Regions from separate parts of the Homo sapiens genome. Here all the other regions are linked to region 1. Evidence: promoter capture Hi-C in human tissues and cell types (Jung and others, 2019). All regions are on one chromosome and are shown on one strand. The core of a region is centred on a gene start or on the middle of the fragment in contact, and the rest is flanking DNA. Distances in the headings are between cores, read along the strand shown.

The links. Contacts are between HindIII fragments. The study calls those that stand out against the background at their distance.
Region 2: a contact is called between a fragment that was not itself captured here and the fragment with the promoter of FHOD3 in region 1, in 3 of the 25 tissues and cell types used here (hippocampus, mesendoderm cells and thymus).
Region 3: a fragment that was not itself captured here is called in contact with the fragment with the promoter of FHOD3 in region 1 in 1 of the 25 tissues and cell types used here (aorta).

Annotation. Positions count from the first base shown.
Region 1 is chr18:36,296,112-36,299,331 of GRCh38, reverse strand. FHOD3 (formin homology 2 domain containing 3) reads right to left here and starts at 1,619. Exons shown (of 29, transcript NM_001281740.3): 1 at 1,332-1,619. The coding sequence starts at 1,496. RefSeq lists silencers at 1,377-1,446, 1,567-1,856 and an enhancer at 1,796-2,773. The HindIII fragment of the contact is 5,975 bases long and covers 1-3,220 here.
Region 2 is chr18:36,530,303-36,533,522 of GRCh38, reverse strand. All of the region lies in intron 5 of FHOD3 (formin homology 2 domain containing 3), which reads right to left. Among named protein-coding and RNA genes, the nearest start is that of FHOD3, 230 kb to the right of the region's middle. The HindIII fragment of the contact is 6,512 bases long and covers 1-3,220 here.
Region 3 is chr18:36,439,081-36,442,300 of GRCh38, reverse strand. All of the region lies in intron 3 of FHOD3 (formin homology 2 domain containing 3), which reads right to left. Among named protein-coding and RNA genes, the nearest start is that of FHOD3, 140 kb to the right of the region's middle. The HindIII fragment of the contact is 3,315 bases long and covers 1-3,139 here.

The sequences.
Region 1 (3,220 bases), core at 370-2,869:
GATGATGACGACCCTCTGTCTCCCAATCAAATGTGCTTTTGTGGCCAGAGAGGTTTCCACGACTGTATCCGTCCTGAACCAACCAGGAGAGAATGAGATGGAAATGCCCCATTCCTTATTCCTGAAAACGTTACTAACTAAGTAGAGGAGGAAAGCACTGATACATTAATAGAGAGGAAACTACCACTGCTAAAGTCCACCAGTTTCCTCACACAACCAACCTCCTCCTCTACTTGCAAAGCAGGTCAACATCATACAGAAATCCGAGGTTTTTTTTTAAATCAATTTTGTTCTTTTGGGCATCAACGCTTATCTCTTCCAAATATGTGTTAATGTCGACCCTCAAGAAATAAATCATCTCCAAGCTTTGATATGAATCCTAGGCAGAAAAAATACTGGGAAGGTAATTTTGCAAGCTGCATTCAATCTGTCTAAGTGAGAGTAAGGGTTTTCCTAGGTAACGAAATGATTAGCTTTCAATACCCACCTCTTTGCAACAAATGCTTTGCAAGAGGCCTATCCTCCTGCAAAAGGTTTTATTTAAATAAAAATAACAAATAAAAAAAAAAAAACCTCTCTAACGGGTAGACTGAGCAGCCATTCTTCCCAGGGGACACTCATTTCGGGCTGCCAAGCTGAGGCTTTGTGAGCGCGCCGCCCCTCCGCGCCCCCGCCCCTCCTCCCACAGCGACTGCTCCTCCGAGGTTCCCAAGGCCACCTGCTTCTCAGAAGAAAAGGGGGATACCCTGAGCGCTATCGCAGTGTGCGGCCGGCGTCCCCGGCGGCGCCCCCGGGGGAAGGAGGAGGCGGTGTCGCCGGGAAGCGTGCTTTGTCGCGAGGGTCGCGTGGCCGCCCGCAGCGGCCCCAGAGGCCTGAGGGAGGTTTTGTCCCGGCCGTCGCTCAGAGCTCTCCTCTCCAAGGGACCTGAGTCTCGCGGCGCTCCGCTTCTTCCCGCGCCCCGCTTGGTGCCCGCCCGAGTGCCGAGGCCGACTGCCCGCGTCCTAGCCCCACCCCGCCCACCCGGCCGAGCTAACGGCGCGGCTCGGGGGAGCCTTCTCCATCCCGCCTCGGACCGGCTCGGCACCTGCTCTGCCACGCCCGCCCCCGGCTCTAGCTGTTCCTTCCCGCCCGCCCCGGAGGGTCCTGCGCCAACCAGCGGGTGCCTCGAGCCCTTCTGTCTAACGGGGAGGGGGATTTGCCCTCGAGCGATGGTCCCCCCGGGCCGCGCCCAGCCCAGCCCAGGGGGCCCACGAAGCCCCGGGACCCACCCCGGCGCGCACCGCGGCAGGGGGCTGAGTCCAGGGGGCCCAGCCCACCCCGCCGGGTCGTACCTTGTGCGGCGCCTGCAGCAGCCTATGGACCCCCGCCAGCTGGGTGCCGAGCGCGAGGTCCTCGCGGAACGTGAACAGCGGCGGCCGGCTGGGCTCGGGGAAGTTGGTGCTGTTGAAAGGGTCCGTGTCGTCCAAGAACTGCACCCGGCAAGCCAGCGTGGCCATGATGCATCCCTGCCGCGGGGGCGCGGGCCCCGGGGTTAGCGGGGCCGCGGGCCGGGACGCCCGGGTAGCTGCGCGCAGGGGAGGCCGCAGCCGCAGCTCGCTGGCTCGCGGACTCGCAGGCTCAGGCGCGCCGGGCTGCAGCCCGGGCTCCGGCCGCGGGGGGCGGGGCGGGGGCGGGGCCGGCGGGCCCCCTCCTTCCCCTCTCCCTCCGGCTCCTCCCCTCCTCCGGGTCCTCTACCCCCGGCCGGGCTGCCCCGAACGACCGGACCGCAGCCGGGAAAGTGCAAAGGAGACGGCTCGCGCGGCATCCGCAGCCCTGCGCCAAAGGCCGGCGGCGGAGGCGGGGCGGGGAGGCCGGGCGGCCGGACTCTGCTGCACGTGCGCCCCGCGGCCCAGGGCCGAGCTGCACCCCTCGGAGCCTGGAGGACCGAGTTGGGGAGTTGGGGGGTTGGGGGACGGGGAGACAGGCGGCCTTCTGACTTCTTCCCCACCCGGAGAAGGCTTAAGCCTTTCCAGATGAAGGCGGCGGCGGCCGGCTTCTGCTGCCCAGATTTGGAATACCCCGGCAGGGCACCAGGTGGCCAGGGAGCCGGCTTCGGCAGCAAGAGGGGTGGTGGCAGTGACCGGGAGCCCCACCTAAGGGTACGGGGAGGTTTCCCTTAGGGACAAAGAAGCTAAGAAAGAGGAGGGTGCGCCAGGGAACCCAGGCCGCTTTTAGGGCACAAGCCTAGAGTCGAGAGGCGTGGGGGCTGCGAGGCTTCGCTGCGGGACTCCAGCGCCGGGCCTGGACCCCGGGGCTCCCGGCGGATGCTGGTTAAACCTCTGCATCACCACGGCCTCTCCCCAGTTAGGCCGCCGAAAGCCCTAATTGGACCTTGTGGGGCCGCGGGGGCTTGGGGAGGTGGGAGCCCTTCTGGCAAGGTTCCCGAATTGCAGAGAGCCGGGGATGCCCTGGTAACCGAGGGACTGGGAAGGAAGGTTTGCGTCCTGCCCGCCCCTGCCAGGCGGGAGCGGCAAGACTCGGCGCTGCCTCCCACCGCTCTCCTCGCTGCTCACGGGCGACCCCCTTCGTTTTCAAGAAAAATTCACGGTTCTCCCTATTCCCAGGCCACAGCCAAGTTCCTGGTTCCTCCCCCCTTATATAGATCGCCCTCATAACACCCAGTCTCTCTTAACATCCGAGTGTTTTCAAGGCGACTCTATAACGCGTCTATCTCCCTTTCCTCTGGTTTCAAGGGAAAAGAAACCCTTATCCCTATTTAGCAGCCTCACCCACATCTTTAACCTCTCCCTCTCCGTGATCTCCCTCCCTGCCACACATACACACTTATGCCTGATCTTAAAATAATAATTCCACGACACTTCCGCTCCTTCCAGACGAACTTCTAGCTCTACTTTCTTTGTTATTTAACTCTTTGAATGAATCCTCTAGATTAGCCGTCCCCAATCTTTTTGGCACCAGGGACCGGTTTTGTGGAAGACGATTTTTCCACGGACAGTGGTGGGGTGGGGGTGGGGGGCGTTTGGGGGAGGAAGGGCAGATGGTTTCAGAATGAAACTGTTCCACCTCAGATCATCAAGAATTAGATTCTCATACGAGCGCGCTACCTAGATCCCTCGCATGCGCAGTTCAGAATAGGGCTCTCTCTGGCATGAGAATCTAATGCCTCCGCTGATCTGACAGGAGGCGGAGCTCAGGCGGTAATGCTCGCTCACTGGCCGCT
Region 2 (3,220 bases), core at 442-2,941, 230 kb before region 1:
CATTCCATGCCACCTACAGCACCACAACTCACCATCCACTTTGAGGACAAGCACTTTTGGAGAAGGGCTGCTTCAGCAGCATGCCCCTTGAAGAGCACACGCTCAGGACATAGCAGAGGAAGGCCTCTAGGACCTGGCCAGCACAACCTTCTCTGTCCCAGCCCTGTCCCTTCTAGCTGTGTTAGTAGTAGGGCAGACACTGCCACAGCCCTCACTACAAGCCGCGATGCATCCAAATGCGTCGCACATGCTCATCTATTTAACACTACACCAAACTATCAGGAGGATACTTTCATCATGCCTGGTTTGCAGATGAGGAAACTGTGCCTCTGAGAATTTTGAGTTCCAAGCACTAACATCTGGCTGCCTATCTTCTATAAACAGCCCAGTTCAAGTTCTAAGGTCCTTCATGTGTTGAAGCTCCAGTAGACCCACCATGTCTGTGGCCTCGAGGAAGCATAATATTGTGCAGAGGGCCAAGTGGCTCAGCTTCACCTGGATCCTTACAAAGCCCCTCCCACTGTGGGAAGCCCAGGCAGGCAGGCCACCCAATGGGGCATCACGCTGGGGACAGCAAGTCAATCAAACATGGACATGGTAGAGACCACGTTAGGAAGGGCCTTGAATGACACAACGAGACACTATTTCATCTCCTCTAACAATGGTTTCTTGCCTTTAAACGTTTTAATGGAACCTTTTCCAAAAGAACTCTCCATGCAATCTCAAAATCTCAAACAGGTAAAACTGGATGTTCTGCGGTTGAGGTTAGAGGGTGATTTCTCTGCTTCCAGGTGTGGGTGGGACCCGGTGGGTCTCCGAGGGAACCCAGGATTTGTGGAACAACACGTGGTAACTACTGATTCTTCACACAAAGAGGGTTGGGAAGGATCTGAGATGACTCATGAGGGTTCTTGGAAGAGCTTCGGTTTCCATTCTCCTGCCAAGAGTAGAGTAGACAGGAGACTCAGAAATATTTCTGATGGGGAAGGAAACCAGAAGCTCCCTCTGCCAGGCTGAGCACAAGTACCAGTAGCCACAGCAGCTCTTCCTATGGGCATGACAGCCCAAAGACACCTCCACTGGTCCCCTGTCCCCCAGGTGCCACAGAAGCCACTATGGATGTCCCTTTTCTTCCTTCTCTCTTCCAGGGAGGGTGAGACTTGAGGGAAGTGGCCAGGGAAGAGGAGCGTATGGGTCCTGGAGTTTCCTAAACACACAGACCAAGACTAAAGACTGGATTGTGGCAATCACTGCCCTGTGTTCCCCGAACACTCACTGAGAAAGAGATACTCCATACTTTCTTGGTGTACTCCAAGTCTAGAAATCACAGAGCCTTGCTGATGTTCCAAATTACGGTTATGGAGAATAAACATTAAGAGGTACAACTTGAGGCCTGGGAGGAACTTAGGGTTTTCCTCCAATGGCTGCATGAAAGCCACGCCGCAGGGAGATTTTCTCCAGAGGCAGCTGTGCAGAGAACAGAAGCAGGCCAGCAGTGAGGCTGAGGGCAGGCAGGAGAGCAGAGGGAAAGAAATGGAAATGAAAGATATTTCAAAAGAAAGTACAAGACTCGGCAAAAGGATAAAGGGAATGCAGAGGTGCTGGGCTGGGCAGGGCAGGAGAGAGTTGGGGAGACTGTGACACGCACAGGAATAGCCCAGGCAGGAGCCAGCCTGCCTGTGGGCAAACTGCTCTGGTGTCAAGCATCCTGCCTCCGAGAGGACCGCAGGCTGTAGACAGCGGAAGACGTGGGACAGGAGCTGGAGGAAGAGCCAGTCCCAGAGAGTTCCACTTTGGAGACAGTTTTTCAGACTTATTCAGTCTATAAGCTGTTCCTGTGACTTCTGCTGTATCCATATGGCATTAAAGCAATGTTTGTTCGTATCAAACAGACTCCTTTGAAATCAGTGAGTCCATGTAATCTTAGGTACTGCAAATGCATCCCAGAGGCATTCTGTCCCTCCAGATGAGCCCAGTTGAGCTTTTCTGTGATTTAGGAAGGGAGGCAAGATGGGGCCAGCAGGCAGAACATGGAGGGGCAGCTCAGGATCGGGGAAGGGTCTCAACCACTAGAGTGTTTTGGACAGGAATGGCTGTGACTGTGAGGGCTGAAATAAGGGGCACAGTTGAAAGAAAAAGCAAAGGGACAAACTGCAAAGCCAAGGTTATCAAAGGGGAAAGAAGAGCATCCCTCGGGAGGGAGCAGGGGTGGGTTGCAGGCACTGGGCCATGGTCATGTGGCAGGCCCAGTGATGCACAGATGGAGACAGTGACTGCTTGCATCCTTCACAGATGGGTCTTCCTTCTGTTCATGATGCAGAAAGCACTCTGGCTGGGTTACATCTACAGCTCGATCACTGTCCAGCCACAAAACCACCAGCAAGTCACCAGAGCCCTCTAGACCTCAATTTCCCTATGTGCAAAATGAGGTTAGAGTAGGAGGCCTCTAAGGCACCTTCTGGCTCTAACATCCTGTGTCCAGCCAGGCCAGCCATTGGACACTGAACTAATTCAACCATGGTCACAGAGGCAAGACCCTTGGGGACCAGTGGAAATAGGCCAAGGAAAAGTCTTTTCCCAGCCCAAAGTCTCCAGTCATCTCAGTCACACAGTCACTCACCGCAGGGGCCTCAGGGAGAACAAGACTAAGAACAAAAGCCCCAGCTACTAAGAAGCAACCCAGGATGAATGCAAGACTCCTGTGTTCAGAAGTAGCAGTTCTAACCCGGGCTGGAAAATACACAGTATGTTATGAGAACATTATGAATAACCCCTTGACCAGCAATTCTACCCCTAGGTAAATCCTAGAGAAAATCACATGGATGCACAAGGAAATACAACAAGAATGTGCATGCTGGCATTGTCTGCAACTCAAAAAACCTGGATATTACCTAAATGTGGACCAACCAGAGAACTAATAAATAATTGCAGTACATCCATACAACGGAATACTACCCAGCAGTGAAAATGGACAGGCGAGAGCCATGATACCAGCATGGATGGATCTCACATCATTACACTCACTCATTCTCTCAACAATCACTCACAAACACAAGTCCTCTGTGCCAAGGTGTTGTTCTAGGCAGCAGGGACACTCAATTTAATAGATGATGCCCCTGCCCTAGTGGGGGTAGAGAGAAAAGAAACCACCATTAAGTAACACACATAGCCTGACAGACTATGTTGAGCCCTACAGAGAAGCATCAGGCAAGGAGAAGCC
Region 3 (3,220 bases), core at 233-2,732, 140 kb before region 1:
ACCTTGAAAGGAAAAAAAAATCAACTGCTAGCCTCCATAGGCTATTTTCAGCTCAAAGAATGCCACATACTTAAAGGAAGTTTGAGCCACAACCTTGCAAACACATTACATGAAACAGAGCAATGGGGAAAGGGAATCTGGGAGAAGGGGAGCAGGGAGGGGGCATTCTCAGAACACATGGAATGTCCAGTGTCTGGAAGTTCCTAAGTATTCCAGTCTTTGGCAATGACACTTCTAAATTGTGAAAAATAATAACACTCTCTCACTATGACTCATAGAGGAAACAGTCTGTAATCAGTAATTTATTATTCTATTCCAAAGCTTTATTCACGGACTTTCATGAACTAAAGTCAGAAATCCTAACTTAGCATAATTTGACTTGACTTTTCTAATTTTGTTTTTGGGGCTTTTTAAAAAAATCATGCAACGTGTCACTGTAACTTGAGCAAGGTTCCTTCTAGCACTACCAACCAAATTCAGTGAGTCCACGATTCCATGAGGAGGTACATTTTGTTCCACGGGGCAGGCACTGCGTCTAAAATGTGATGAAGAGATGGCACTTGGCTGTGATGTCTATAATTAAGGAGCATCACGGCAATTACACAGCACAGCTGTTTGTGCGAAGCTTCCCTGTAACATGTGGTTTCCCAGCATATCATCTCTATCATAAGCTTAAAAATAAGAAGGAGCCTACCAGCAGACACAAAGCTAAGAATTCTGCCAGCAGGGACTCTGCCCACTACAACAGCCACAGAGACGTCCAGCAGTCTGCAGCAGGCCTCCTAGAAAACCTCCTGAAGCCTTCTGGACCCAATTCTGGCCTCCCTGTCTCCAGTCACACTTCCTGTAGACTCCAGCTTCAGCCTCGTCCTCATCCTCTATGTTCCCGTACAACTCTGAGCTTCCACATTTTCTGGCACTTACCACATTAAAGTAGAATTGGCCACTGACCACCCCTTTCTCCTCAGAAAGCAGGGTTCATGCCCACCCTTCTGAATTTGCCCAGGGTCTGACAATGCCTGGCTCATGCAGGTCCTCACCTCGCATTGGTGGGCAGGTGCAGCCTGTGGGAAGCACACCTCAACATCCAGCTCTGGGGCATATACCTGCTCACCTCACCCATTTTTACTGAGCTCCTGCTTGCTGGGCAATATTCTAGCTGCGAAGAATGTTGCAAAGACAAAGAGAGAAAGGAAGAGACTATCCTCCTGGAACTGAGGAATCTATAAGAGAGAATGACCTTACACACACAACCATGCAATTGGGGAAAATATTATAAAAAAGCAAAAAGTATAGCATGCTCTAAGACCATGTAACTGGGTGCCCTGCCAATTGCAAAAGCTTATCCAAGGCAATAGCAGGGCAGGAGGGTGGCGGGTGGAGATAATCTCAGCAGATAGTCACAGCCCCACCATTTAAAATACAAGAGGAAAAAAAATAGAGATGGGCCAAGTGCCCAGCCTCAGAGGAATGGCTACACATGGCCTATCCAGGCAAGCTAAGGGAATGCGACTACTGAGCCATTTAAAAATGACAAGCATGTGAACTATGTTGATTATGTGGGGAGATATTAATAGAGTTTATTATGTATTGGGTTTTTTCTACCATAAAGGTGCTTAGGTTCATTAAGAAAAATTTCAAAGCTTGGCCTCCACCACTCCTGCCTCAAGATAATCTTCAGAGTCCTGGAGCAGCACTGGTGGCCCTTGGGGGCTTGGTGGTCAGAGGAGCAGGCACAGGTGGCAGAATATGAGCAGTGGGAGGGCCGTGGAGGCCCGGAGGAGCCCCTTCATTTGACCAACGCAGACTCAGAGGAGGCGGGCAGCGCGTCCAGCTGGGACAGTGCCCCACGCCCTTTCCCTCCCCGACGTGTGGCCCTTTCAAGGAGCTCCTCAAATAAGGAAGGGGAGTGGGAGATCAGCAGCCACATCCTCTGTCAGGAAGAGAAGGCTCTCCCCAGGCGGATGTGGAAAGGCTTCCTGAAGTGCCCTGCGCCTGCTTCTGCTGCAGAAGATGACAGCTGGGCCGGTGCTCATTGGATGGCTGCCCGAGCTTGAGTGCTCCCCTTGTTTTTTGGGTAGTTTATTCCTTAGCTATTCAAAGGATGGTCCCTGGACCAGCAGCATCAGCATCACTTGGGAGCTTATTCGAAACAAAGAACCTTGGTCCTACCGGTACAGACCTACTAAAACATCACCTACATTTTAACAGGATCCCTAGAAGAGTCACTAAGATGGTGGAGGTTAAGTGTCAACTTGACTGGGCTAAGGGATACCCAGACAGCTAGTAAGACATTATTTCTGGGTGTGTCTGTGAGGGCATTTCTAGAAACGATTCACATTTAAATCTGTAGACTGAGTAAAGAAGAGCCCCCTCACCATTGTGGGGATGGGGAGGGCATCATCTAATCCATTGAGGGACCACATAGAACAAAAGAATCGAAGAGGGCAAATGCTTTCTCTGCTGGAACATCCATCTTTTCCTGCACTAGGATATCAGAGCTTCAGGTTCTCAGGCCTTTGGACTCTAGGACTTAACACCAGCTACCTCCCAGGTTCTCAGGCTTATGGCCTCATACTGAGAGGTTACACTGCCCACTCCCCTGGTTCTTGGCCATCAAACTCAATGACACCACTGGCTTTCCTGAGTCTCCAGCTTGCAGACAGCAGATCATGAGACTTCTTGGGCTTCATAATCACATAAAAAGTCTCCTCTTATGTAACTACATACATACACACACACACACACACACACACACACACACACACACACACACACATTCTATTGGTTTTGTTTCTCCAGAGAGCCCTGACTAATACAGTCACATGCACATTCAGATTTGACAAGTGCTGATTTAGTCCTAGAGTGTGGGAGGATTCATTTATTCATTACCCAAATAGTCATTGACTCCTCTGCTAAATCCTGGGGCAGAGCCAAAGTTCTGACAACATACCTGGAGGGTCCTCTGCAAGCGAAAGCCAGGTTGGCAAGTAATACAGCTGCCTTTCTACAGCCCCATGGAGAAAAAATACATGGCTGAAAAGCTTAAGATTTTTTGGGAAAGAAACCATAGGGTTGGGGATAGAACTTTGAAAGTCTTTTTAGAAAACTATATATTAACTACAACAATGAAGGAGCATTCAATAAAAATCAAGGGCCTTTTTCATAACTTCTTTCAGTAATAAGATGCTGTACTGTTTTTTTTCCCATTTAGCATCTC